Regions from separate parts of the Homo sapiens genome. Here regions 1, 3 and 4 are each linked to region 2. Evidence: promoter capture Hi-C in 16 types of primary human blood cells and fetal thymus (Javierre and others, 2016). All regions are on one chromosome and are shown on one strand. Each heading gives the region's core, a stretch centred on a gene start or on the middle of the fragment in contact. The rest is flanking DNA. Distances are from core to core; before and after follow the strand shown.

The links. Contacts are between HindIII fragments. The CHiCAGO score rates a contact against its expected background, and 5 or more counts as called.
Region 1: a fragment that was not itself captured here is called in contact with the fragment with the promoter of CFAP54 in region 2 in 7 of 17 cell types (total CD8 T cells, naive CD8 T cells, non-activated CD4 T cells and 4 more); the score reaches 9.4 in total CD8 T cells.
Region 3: a contact is called between a fragment that was not itself captured here and the fragment with the promoter of CFAP54 in region 2, in 13 of 17 cell types (total CD8 T cells, neutrophils, naive CD8 T cells and 10 more). The highest score is 12.7, in total CD8 T cells.
Region 4: a contact is called between a fragment that was not itself captured here and the fragment with the promoter of CFAP54 in region 2, in 12 of 17 cell types (total CD8 T cells, naive CD4 T cells, total CD4 T cells and 9 more). The highest score is 16.2, in total CD8 T cells.

Annotation. Positions count from the first base shown.
Region 1 is chr12:96,309,316-96,312,015 of GRCh38, reverse strand. CDK17 (cyclin dependent kinase 17) reads left to right here. Exons shown (of 17, transcript NM_002595.5): 5 at 839-964. Among named protein-coding and RNA genes, the nearest start is that of CDK17, 90 kb to the left of the region's middle. The HindIII fragment of the contact is 2,543 bases long and covers 125-2,667 here.
Region 2 is chr12:96,488,239-96,490,938 of GRCh38, reverse strand. CFAP54 (cilia and flagella associated protein 54) reads right to left here and starts at 1,362. Exons shown (of 68, transcript NM_001306084.2): 1 at 1,013-1,362. The coding sequence starts at 1,329. RefSeq lists an enhancer at 1,114-1,323 and a silencer at 1,214-1,508. The HindIII fragment of the contact is 3,410 bases long and covers 1-1,917 here.
Region 3 is chr12:96,262,264-96,264,963 of GRCh38, reverse strand. The region is part of intron 4 of ELK3 (ETS transcription factor ELK3); the gene reads right to left. Among named protein-coding and RNA genes, the nearest start is that of ELK3, 69 kb to the right of the region's middle. The HindIII fragment of the contact is 7,613 bases long and covers 1-2,700 here.
Region 4 is chr12:96,242,431-96,245,130 of GRCh38, reverse strand. All of the region lies in intron 2 of ELK3 (ETS transcription factor ELK3), which reads right to left. Among named protein-coding and RNA genes, the nearest start is that of ELK3, 49 kb to the right of the region's middle. The HindIII fragment of the contact is 3,050 bases long and covers 1-2,700 here.

The DNA.
Region 1 (2,700 bases), core at 147-2,646, 180 kb after region 2:
ACTTCTTTCTGTATCCCTCCCCCATATACACATATACTCTTTCTTATTTTAGAATGTTTTTGGATTTTTTCTGTTTATTCTATTGATACATTTTAGGCATTTTATTTTGTTCTAAGAATAAGCTTATTGTGATTTCTTAGTGGTTATATAACTTATAAAATTAATATAGGGAGGACCAGTATCTTCTCCTTACTTATTCTTACCATTTGGTGGCATTGTATGTTTTTATACTTAAGTCTTATATTTCTCAGTAAATATTTATGCAGTTCCTATACCTCTCCATTCCGTTTCATGGTTTGGCTGCTGTTATGAATGGGAGGAATTTCTTTTTATAGGGCTTAAATTTCTTGATACAATGATATAGGCAAGATTCTTTTCAAGTTTATCCCAGCTCACATTGTATAATTAAATAAAGTAGAAATGCCATTAACATGGCAGTAATAAATACAATTCTCTTTCCCCATGTTGCATACAAGATCATATAATGTCTACTTGGTTAGTTATTTAAACTGATCACAGAGTTTGTGGTAGTGTTTGCCTAATGTTACTATATGGTATAATAAATTTAAAGTAAATTTCAAGTTGAATTTACCAGTGAAAGGACTCAAAAATTACTGAGGTTGCAAAATTTCATTTCTGTAACACTTCGCTGTATACTTTTGCTTACAGTAAATGTTTTTGCCATGAGTATATTACATATAATCAATGTAGGTAACTTTGCAACTGCAATAAAACTTTACAATTACTTATCACTAAGAAATAATATGTTAGAGCCTGTGAATACAAAAGCCAAATGCCTTGCCTTTACTATTTTGGATTACCTTTTTTTTTTTTTAAGGATTTAAATAAGCGGTTATCACTGCCTGCAGACATCAGAATACCTGATGGATATCTTGAAAAGTTGCAGATAAACAGTCCACCATTTGACCAACCAATGAGTCGAAGGTCTCGTAGAGCTTCCTTAGTAAGTTTTTGGTCTCCTATACCTCCACCATCAATCAGATCTGCTTGTTTGCTGCTTCTGGGTGTAAACATTTTAAATTAATTTTTATACTTGACTTTAGAATAGCTAAATTTTATTATATTGCCTTCTCGATTTTTATTATTTTCCATTCTTAAAGGTTTATTGGAGTCCTTAAGATGCATTCAATAGGATGCATATTGGAATAGGATTTAAGGTATATTTTATTTTTGGTAAATGTTATTAATACATGCTAGGTAGATAAATACATACTAGATATATAGATACACTAGATATGTGCTGGATAAATAAACATGTATTAATATATACTAGATATACAGAGAAGTACACAAACCATAATTGTACAGCTCAACGAACCTTTGAAATGTTAATATACCTGTGTAACCAGTACCTGGATCAGTAAAAGAAAATTTCAGAAATCCCAGAAACCCCCTTCTGTTCCCTTTCTCTTTACTTAGTATTCCTCACTTCCTCAACTGTAGCCATACTCTCTGCCTTCTGATGCTAAAGATTAGTTTTACCCATATGTGTGACATTGTTCTGATCATACTGTTTTTATAGTATGTTTTGGTATCTGGATCTTCTAAAATCCCATTCACATATATTCTTATTTGTTTTTTAAATGTGTAATATTCTCTTTCTGATTATCCTTATTAAAACGTCTGAGCTTTGTGTAATTATGAATATGTAATTATATTAAAATATATTTTATGTAGATATACAGAATTATATACTTATACAAAGTTTGTATATATATATTGCACAATATGTATCCCAGTATGTATGGAAGTTATACAGTATGTATTATTTTTGTTGTTAGCTTCTTTTGTTCAGTGTTATGTTTGTGAGTTTCAGCCCTATTTTTGCATGTAATTATAGATAATTCGTTTTCATTGTTGCATGGTATTCCATTTATGAGTGTACTGTACTTCATCCATTCTCCTATCGATGGGCATTCTGGTTGTTTTCGGTTTTTGGCTATTACCAAATAATGCTTCTATCACCATTCCTGTGCATGTTTTTTGGTTAACATGTAAGCATTTCTGTTGAGTGCTTACCTAGGAGTGGAATTGTTGCATTATATTCTGCTTCCCTAGATACTGTCAACAGCTTTCCAGAGTGGTTGTACCAACTTATACGTATATCACTAGCATATAATAGTTCTGGTTGTTCTCCTTGCCAACTTTTGATAATGTCTTTTAAAAATTATTATTTTAAGTTTTCTAGCAAGTTGATAGTGGTCTCTTGGTTTTATTTTGCATTTCTCTGATGACTAAGTTGAACACCTTTCTGTGTGTTTATTATTCATCGTATGTTTATTGTATGTTTATATTTAGATACTCTCTTTTGTGAATTAACTACCCAAGTCTGTTTTTCTTCTTTTTTCTATTGGGTTTTCTGTCTTTTTTATTGGTTTATACGAATTTTTAAGTATACTTTATATACAGGACCTTTGTCAGTTACATGTCTTACAAATATATTTTCTTAATATTTAGTAATTAACCCAGCACCATTTATTCAAAGGATAACTTTTCTTATTGCAGTATCACTTTAATGTAAATTCAGGTGATTGTTTATGTGAGAATCTCTTTTGGATGACTATAGTCCTGTAGTAGAGATACATATAAAGTGCTTTGGGACAACAAAAGAGGCAGCAAGTAAAATGCCTTGGCAAATCACAAGCTTACAGAGATAGCACTTGAGCTGGTCCTAGAAGG
Region 2 (2,700 bases), core at 113-2,612:
CCTGTTCTATTTTTCTCCCTAGCAGTCATCTCCTTGTAAGATTATTTACTTACATATTTGTTTAGTGGTTGTTTATACCCACAAAAACATATGCTCTATAAGGACATGGATTCTTATATGTTTTGTTAACTTGATGTTTTCCTAGTTCCTTGAACAGCACTTGATATACAGTATGTGCTCAATAAATAGTTGTTATATGCATAAATAAAAAATATTTTATTTTATTTATTTATTATTATTATTTTTTGAGAAGGAGTCTTGCTCTGTCGCCCAGGCTGGAGTGTAGTGGCGCGATCCCAGCTCACTGCAACCTCTGCCTCCCGGGTTCAAGCAATTCTCCTGCCTCAGCCTCCTGAGTAGCTGGGAGTACAGGCATGTGCCACCATGCCCAGCTAATTTTCGTATTTTGTATTCATGTATAAATTTTTGGCTCGCTCAAGGGTTTCACAACTTTCCATGTTATGAGTATATAAATTTGTATATGGAGAAAAAGGAATAACTTCGAGGTAGCTCAGGTTCATGAAGCTAGCTCTTGATACAATGAAGTATGTCATCCTGTGAACATGTGCACTTTAATTCCTTCTTATATTGCTATTAGGATTACAGTGACTTTTTCTTAATTTTGCTATTCATTCTGCGCAACTGTTTGCCTTTTTGGGAGTTCTATCACCATGTTATTACTGCAAACTGCGAACTCTTTTTAAGGTTCTTTCCTGCTTATGTTACCATCTTTCTTTTCTGGTCAAATAACAAATGGTGAGTTATGAAACATTTCTGTGTAGATTTTTATTTTGACCTGAGCAGGAAGCCAAGATATAACAGCTCCCAGGAATTAAGGATTGTTAAGAGCGACGAGTCTCCACTTCTTAAACTTTGTCTCTCCTGGGCCCTTCAGCCAGCCCCTGCGTCCGCAACGCTGAACCATCTCTGGGGCCACCACCTGCATCCTCCAGCCCTTTCCAGGGGTCCCTCCTCTGGCCGGCGCCCTCCCCAGTGCCCCGCCAGCGCTTACCAACGCCGGCGGAATTCGTGCTTCTCTTCCTCCGTGGTGGCTAAAGCCTTCTTTTTCCTCATAAAGCCTAACAACTCCTGGATCTCCTTCTCACAAGAGGCCAGGAGCGGGTTTTTCGCGTCCAGCGGCCCATAAAACACGGCTAGGGGCAATGAGTCCTCGGGGCAGGTCCACTGAAGCAGCGAGCTCCGGGAGCTCCCCTTCGACTCTGGGGGCGACCTCGAAGTCGCGGTGGAGGTCGGCGGCAGTTCTGGCAGAGACCCCGAGGTGGTAGAGTCGTCTGACGGAGAGCTCGAGGGGGAGCCCTGCGCCGCCATATTGACGCGCCCCGGCCCGCCTGGAGTATGTGTACACGCGGTTGCCTGGCGACGGTCTCGTGGCAACCGGGCATCCCGCGCGCATTCCGAGAAACACAGCGGCCCCTGGAGGGCAGAGCGAGAAAGAACCAGGTCCAGAAAACAATGATGCTCCTGAGGGCGTTGCCTGGTTGTGCGCTGGCACCGCTGTATGAAATGCGAACAGAGAATGTTCTGAGCAGAGCGCTGGCGAATATTAGAGCCAAAAATTTAAGGTCACAAATCCAGACTATACTCTTTATCCATGTTGGCCACTTAATAACGATAATGATGACGACCATGACCATTAACGTGTGTCAGGCATTAAGCATTTGAAACATGTACTTTCATTTATCTCATTTAATCATCATAACTACTTTACAACTTAGGATACTATTAGTATATCCATCTCACAGTTTAGGAAACCAAAGCTCAAGGAGGTTAAGTCATTTGACAAAAGTCAGCGTACAACCGTAGTGTCAGCGACCAGGTCCTCCAAAGGGAACTTGTGACTCCAAAGCCTGTGCTCAAAATGAATAGGCTGTATTGATCACTCCCCAAAACAAAGCTTATTAATCAAATTGAAATTAGAGAAATATCTGACAAGCAGTTTAAGAATCAAATACAGTTGGCCCTCCAAATCTCGGGTTCTTCATCTGTGGATTCAAGCAACTCCAGATTGTAAATATTCAGAACAAAATTAGAAATAACAATACAACAATAAAAATAACACAAAATACAACTATTTACATGGCATTTATACTGTATTAGGTATTACTAGTTATCTAGAGATGATTTAAAACATCCTGAAGGATGTGCACAAATTATATGCAAATACTACAGCATTTCATATCAGAGGCTTGAGCATCCACAGATTTTGGTATCTGCGGGTGTCATGGAACTAGTCCCCCACAGATAGCCAGGGAGTACTGAATATGCAGCTGATCCATTCTCTTTCCTCTATTTGTACCTTGAGGTCTGTAACTGTGGACATGATGTCTATGCCTCTAATAATTATGATTACATCTATTTATGCACATTCCAGCCTTACTTTAATTATCTCTGTATTCTAAATTAATGTGCATTTTGCTCAACCTTAACCATAGGACATTAATACATACTAGTGGCCTGAAGTGTTAACTCTCAAAATACTTTGCATTTTAAACAGGGCTTTTAGGAGACTTTACTTCTGATGGGGAAACTACAGACCTCCAGGGAAATACTTGGGGAGTTTATTCTTAGCCTGTGTATTATAGGCAAAAGTCAGAGTTAAATTTATTAAAGTATGAGTATTGAGAAAATGGAGAACCTTCTTTTCTATAAATTATGCAACACAATAAATTATCTAAGAGA
Region 3 (2,700 bases), core at 23-2,522, 230 kb after region 2:
AGTGTGTTATCTTGAATAAACTAGCCAATATCCCTGTGCCTTAGTTTCTTATCTCTAAAATAGAATTACTGGGAGTATTAAATGAGAAGCCACCAAAAGTGCTAAGAACAACGTCTTGCACACAATAAGTCATCAATCATCAATAAATGTTAACTATTGTTATGTTTTATCTTTATTTTTTCAGACAGGATCACTCTGTCGCCCAGGTTTGAGTGCAGTGGCATGCTCATGGCTCACTACAGCCTCAACCTCCAGGGCTCAAGCAGTGCTGCCACCTCAGCCTCCCTAGTAGTTGGGACCACAGGCACACGCCAGCACACGTGGCCAATTTTTGTATTTTTTTTGGAGAGACAGGGTCTTGCTATGTTGCCCCTGATGGTCTCGAACTCTTGGGCTCAAGTGATCCACCCATGTCACCCTCCCAAAGTGCTGGGATTACAGGCATGAACCACCATGCCCGGCCTTAACTATTGTTATTTAGTAGCATTTCCAGTATGTTAATCACTTAGTAATCTTTGCTTCTACTTAATTTTCAATACCTACTTTACCCCTCAGACCCAGCTCAAAGTCTGCCTCTCTTGAGCTCACCTCTAAAATGTCTTCTAATTATATCCTGTGTCCACTGTTTTAATCTCAAAGATGATTCTCCCTTCAATATTTGTAGTATCATTTCCTCTAGCCAGGTATGGTCGTTGACACCTGTAATCCTAGCCCTTCCTAGGAAGCTAAAGCAGGAGGACTGCTCGAGCCCAGGAGTTCAAAACCAGCCTGAGCAATATAGTGAGACCTCGTTTCTACAAAAAAATTTCAAAACTTAGCCAGGCTTGGTGGCATATGCCTGTAGTTGTAGTCCCAGCTACTTGAGAGGCTGAGGTGGGAGGATCGCTTGAGCCCAGGAGGCAGAGGTTGCAGTGAGCCGAGATTGTGCCACCGCACTCCAGCCTGGGCAGCACAGCGAGCTCATCTCAAAAAATAAAAATAAAAATTTCCTCTTATCTTCCTGTTCCTTCCACTTTCTCTTCAGTTCTTCCTCCACACTAATATCAGTGATTGTTCTCTAAAACAGAGATCTCATCCTCCTACCTCCAGCTTAAAAAGCGTAAACATTTAACAGATAAAGAGAGAAATTCCTAAGCCTATATTCAAGGCCCACAGCTGCGTTTCCAACCTTATCTCCTATCACCTGGTCCCTTCCTGAACAGACTCTCACGTCCCCGTCATTCGGCTCTATTCATCTAAATGTACTCGATCGAAATCCTGTCCCTTCCTCCCAGCTGAGGCGCCACTGCTTCCTTGGAGCCTGTCCAGTGGCCAGCTGGAAAAAGCGCGTCTGCCCCTTACTTTCTGCAGCAGTTTGTTTACTCATCCACTATTCACATATTCTCTGTCCCTACAGTCCTTGTCGCAGAGCATTGCAAATATTTGCTGGGGTTAGATTTGTTGAACTAAAAATTACAGCACACATTCTTAATTGAAAACTTAATTAGCTCTACCTTGTTTCAAGACATACCTATTCCTACTAGGTATATTCCACATTGGAACAAAATCTGTTTCAAAAGTCATGGAACAGACATCCTTAGACAAGAAGAAAATAATAAACTGTCCAAGAAAAACCGAGTTCACTTTATTTATATAAATCAAGGTTCTTTGTTTACATTTAGCACAATGTCTTCGGTGCCTCTCTCCTTACCTAAACATTTCTCAATTTTAAAGCATACCTCTTCCAGAAAGGCGTCTTCTCTCTCCTTCCTTGGAATTCTTTCATATCTGCTATAACCTGCTATAGTAATCATATTAGGGGCCCTTCTGTACAAAAATGCTTCAGCTGTTCAACTATTACCCCAAGGATTCTGATCAACCTTTCCAATCATGGTAATAGGAAACTTGCCAGCATCATTTAAAATGTGTAAGCCAAATCTATTTTTTTCTTCCTTCATTACATCTATAGCGTACATGAAAGAGGTTTGTTGTTATTTTGAAAGAAAATTATTTTCATCAGTTTAAAAGGGATGTTGGCCAGCGTGGTGGTATGCCTGTAGTCCCAGCTACTCCAGAGGCTGAAGTGGAGGACTACTTGAACCCAGGAGTTCAAGACCAGCCTGGACAACATAATGAGACCCCGTCTCTAAATTTAAAAAAAAAAAAAAGTTCTTAAAAAAATAAGAGGCACTGCTGATAGTAATCTGAATTCTGAATATGTATCAATTGTAACATCTAGTTTTAAAAATCAGAAAGTTATTCCTCTACCATATTTTGTTGTTTACCGTTCTCAAAATTGCTATTTTCAACTTTTGCCATACTCAGTTGCTCTTTTCACAGGAAGACTAATAATATTTTAAAAGGCAAAAAATTGTTTTTCCTTAGTCTCCTGGATCCAGCCACAAAAAGAGAGCCCAAGGCCATACAACCTGTCAGCCATCCGGAATACCAGCTTGTCTTTTTTTTCAAGGGTTGTATTCTGAATGGCTTCAGGAAAGAGAACAGGTCCACTTGGTGAAATTAAAACTCTAAGCAGGTAGCCTTTAAATGCAGTAATTTCTGATGCAGAATTCTAAATATAAACTAGGAACCTCTGGTCTGCAGTGCTTCTCAAATTGGTTCCTAGACTGGGTAGTATCACTAGGAACATGACAAAAATGTTTTTGGGCCAGGCACGGTGGCTTACACCTGTAATCGCAGCAATTTGGGAGACCAAGGCAG
Region 4 (2,700 bases), core at 51-2,550, 250 kb after region 2:
TACAGAGTCATGGAGAAACCTCACTGAGCACCAGCATACAGGCCGACGCCCAGGGCACCTTAGATTAGAGTCAAGGCCAAACAACAGTTCCAGTGGCCGCGGCCACCTTGCTGCATCCTGGAGCTCCCACCTGCAACTTAACCCGCGGGGTCTCATTTACGCCAGCGACCTCACACTCACGCTGCTACTCGAAGCTGAACAGCCCTTAAAAACCTTTAGAGAAATTTGGGAAACTCAGATGTTTTCCACCTGGACTTTGTTAGCAGCGTCTCTGCCGAGTGCCCTGGGTCAGAACATGCCCAGGAAAATCAGCTCCCAGCAGGAAATAAATTAAATAAGGGTGTCATTGGACCCACCTGACCCAGGGTCAGTTCCCATTAAAAAGAAAGTGTGCTGGCCTGGTGTGTTAATGCTTCCTTCGCTAAAATTTTAAGTTATTTTTAGTTTTAGCTCATAATATTTTTCTCCCTGGGGAAAAACTTTATTTTTTTCCCTCAGCGAGTTTGAACACTCATCTAAACTGAGTGAAGTTTTTAGAGCCTAAATAATTACACAAAAGACAAACTTCTATAAATGTTTTATTTAGAGCCAAAATAAAAACACAGAAGAAAAAGGATCTGAATCATTTATTCTAACAAGTCTTAAATAACTGTTTCTTCTTTCCCAAAAAAAAAAAAAAAAAATTCTAATTTTCTTATAGGTTTGGAACATCATGTCTAAGTTGGGATTACATTCATGAACACATCAAGAAATAACCAAGGGCTGTGATAAAAATGACAGAAAATGTCTCTCCTGCTCAAAAAATGGTTGGGAACTGAAAGGCAGCCTCAGACAGATCATATGGCCTTGCTGTGTTAAAAAGAACATGAGGAACAACCCACCTGTCCACCAACCAGCAAAAGGATAAATGAAATGTGGGGTGTCCTTACAATGGAATATTATCCAGCTGTAGTAAAGAATGAAGCTCTGCACCAAGGCCTAGAATTCATTATTTGAGGAATAATGAATTACTAGACTATAGTAAGAACAATAAGGAATATTGTTTGGAATAGTAAGGAACAAACATAACATAATGGGCCTCAATTTCATTAAACAGAATCATAGATTTTTTTTTTTTTTTTTTTTGAGATGGAGTCTTGCTCTGTCGTCCAGGCTGGAATGTAGTGGCGTGATCTCGGCTCACTGCAACCTCTGCCTCCTAGGTTCAAGCGATTCTTCTGCCCCAGCCTCCCAAGCAGCTGGAATTACAGGCACCCACCATCATGCCCAGCTAATTTTTTTTTTTTTTGAGATGGAGTCTCGCTCTGTTGCCCAGGCTAGAGTGCAGTGGTGTGATCTCGGCTCACTGCAAGCTCCGCCTCCCTGATTCACGCCATTCTCCTGCCTCAGCCTCTGAGTAGCTGGGACTACAGGCGCCCGCCACCATGCCTGGCTAATTTTTTTTAGTAGAGATGGGGTTTCACCGTGTAAGTCAGGATGGTCTCGATCTCCTGACCTCGTGATCTGCCTTGCCTCGGCCTCCCAAAGTGCTGGGATTACAGGCGTGAGCCACCACGCCCTGCCTAATTTTTATAGAGACGGGGTTTCACCATGTTGGCCAGGCTGGTCTTGAACTCCTGACCTCAGGTGATCTGCCCGCCTCAGCCTCCCAAAGTGCTGGGATTATAGGCATGAGCCATAGAATAGAATATTCTATTCTATGATTCACTGCAAAGTGAAAGCAGCCAGATATTACATGATAAAGGTCACATATGATTCCATTTATATGAAATGTCCAGAATCATGATATCTATACAAAAAACCAGAAAGTAGAGCATGGTTACCTAGGGCTGAGAGGGGTGGAAGGAAGGAGGTAATGAAAATGTTCTAAAGTGGGTCACGGTGATGGGTGCAGAACTCTATACTCAGAGCCACTGAACTGTATATGGTAAATGGGTGAATTGTATGGTATGTGAATTTTATCTTAATGAAGCTGGTTTTTAAAGAAAAGAACATATAAGAATCTTAAGTATTTTACGTGTTTAAGTGGAAGACAGTGGGAACTTTCTATAGCTAGAAGCAACTGTCATAACCCTACTCAGAATGTAAAAAGGGAGACACTGGGAAGGGCCCTTCAGTAGCTGCTGCCTCTGCTGGGGGAGCAGAGAGGACACCAAGAGTTTTCTGGGGAAAGGTTACGCAGTGACGGGGATGGAGACAATTTACTAGCTGGCCAAAAGGAGGAAGTGACAGCCATTGGAAAGAACCGAGGCAGGTCATGCTTCTCTAGAGACCAATGGGAAAGACGGATTCGATCTGGCTACCTGGAAACCTGCCAGGGTCGAAGGCTAAAGAGTGGAACTGGGAGGGAAGAGGGCAGGGTCGGGTACAGTAAGTGGGTCAGAGCAGTGCAGCCCAGTGACTCAGCACCGGGGACATCTGCTAGACGAGGGGAGCTGGTAAGGAAAGCCCCCCACAGCGGTGCCCACGGCTGGAGGATTAGGAACAACCTGGGCTCAGAGGACGTGTGTCCCTGCAGCTGCACTGACAGCCCCTTCTTCCTTATCTTCCAGGGCTGCCCCCAGAAGCAGCGCCATGTATGTTTGAAGATCTCTCTGTGGCTTCCAGAGGGAAGTTTCCTTCCAAGAGTTTGCTGAGAAGACTCAGTGTCAGGAATAATACAAGCTAGTATGTGCTGAGCACGTATTATTTGTCAGGCTA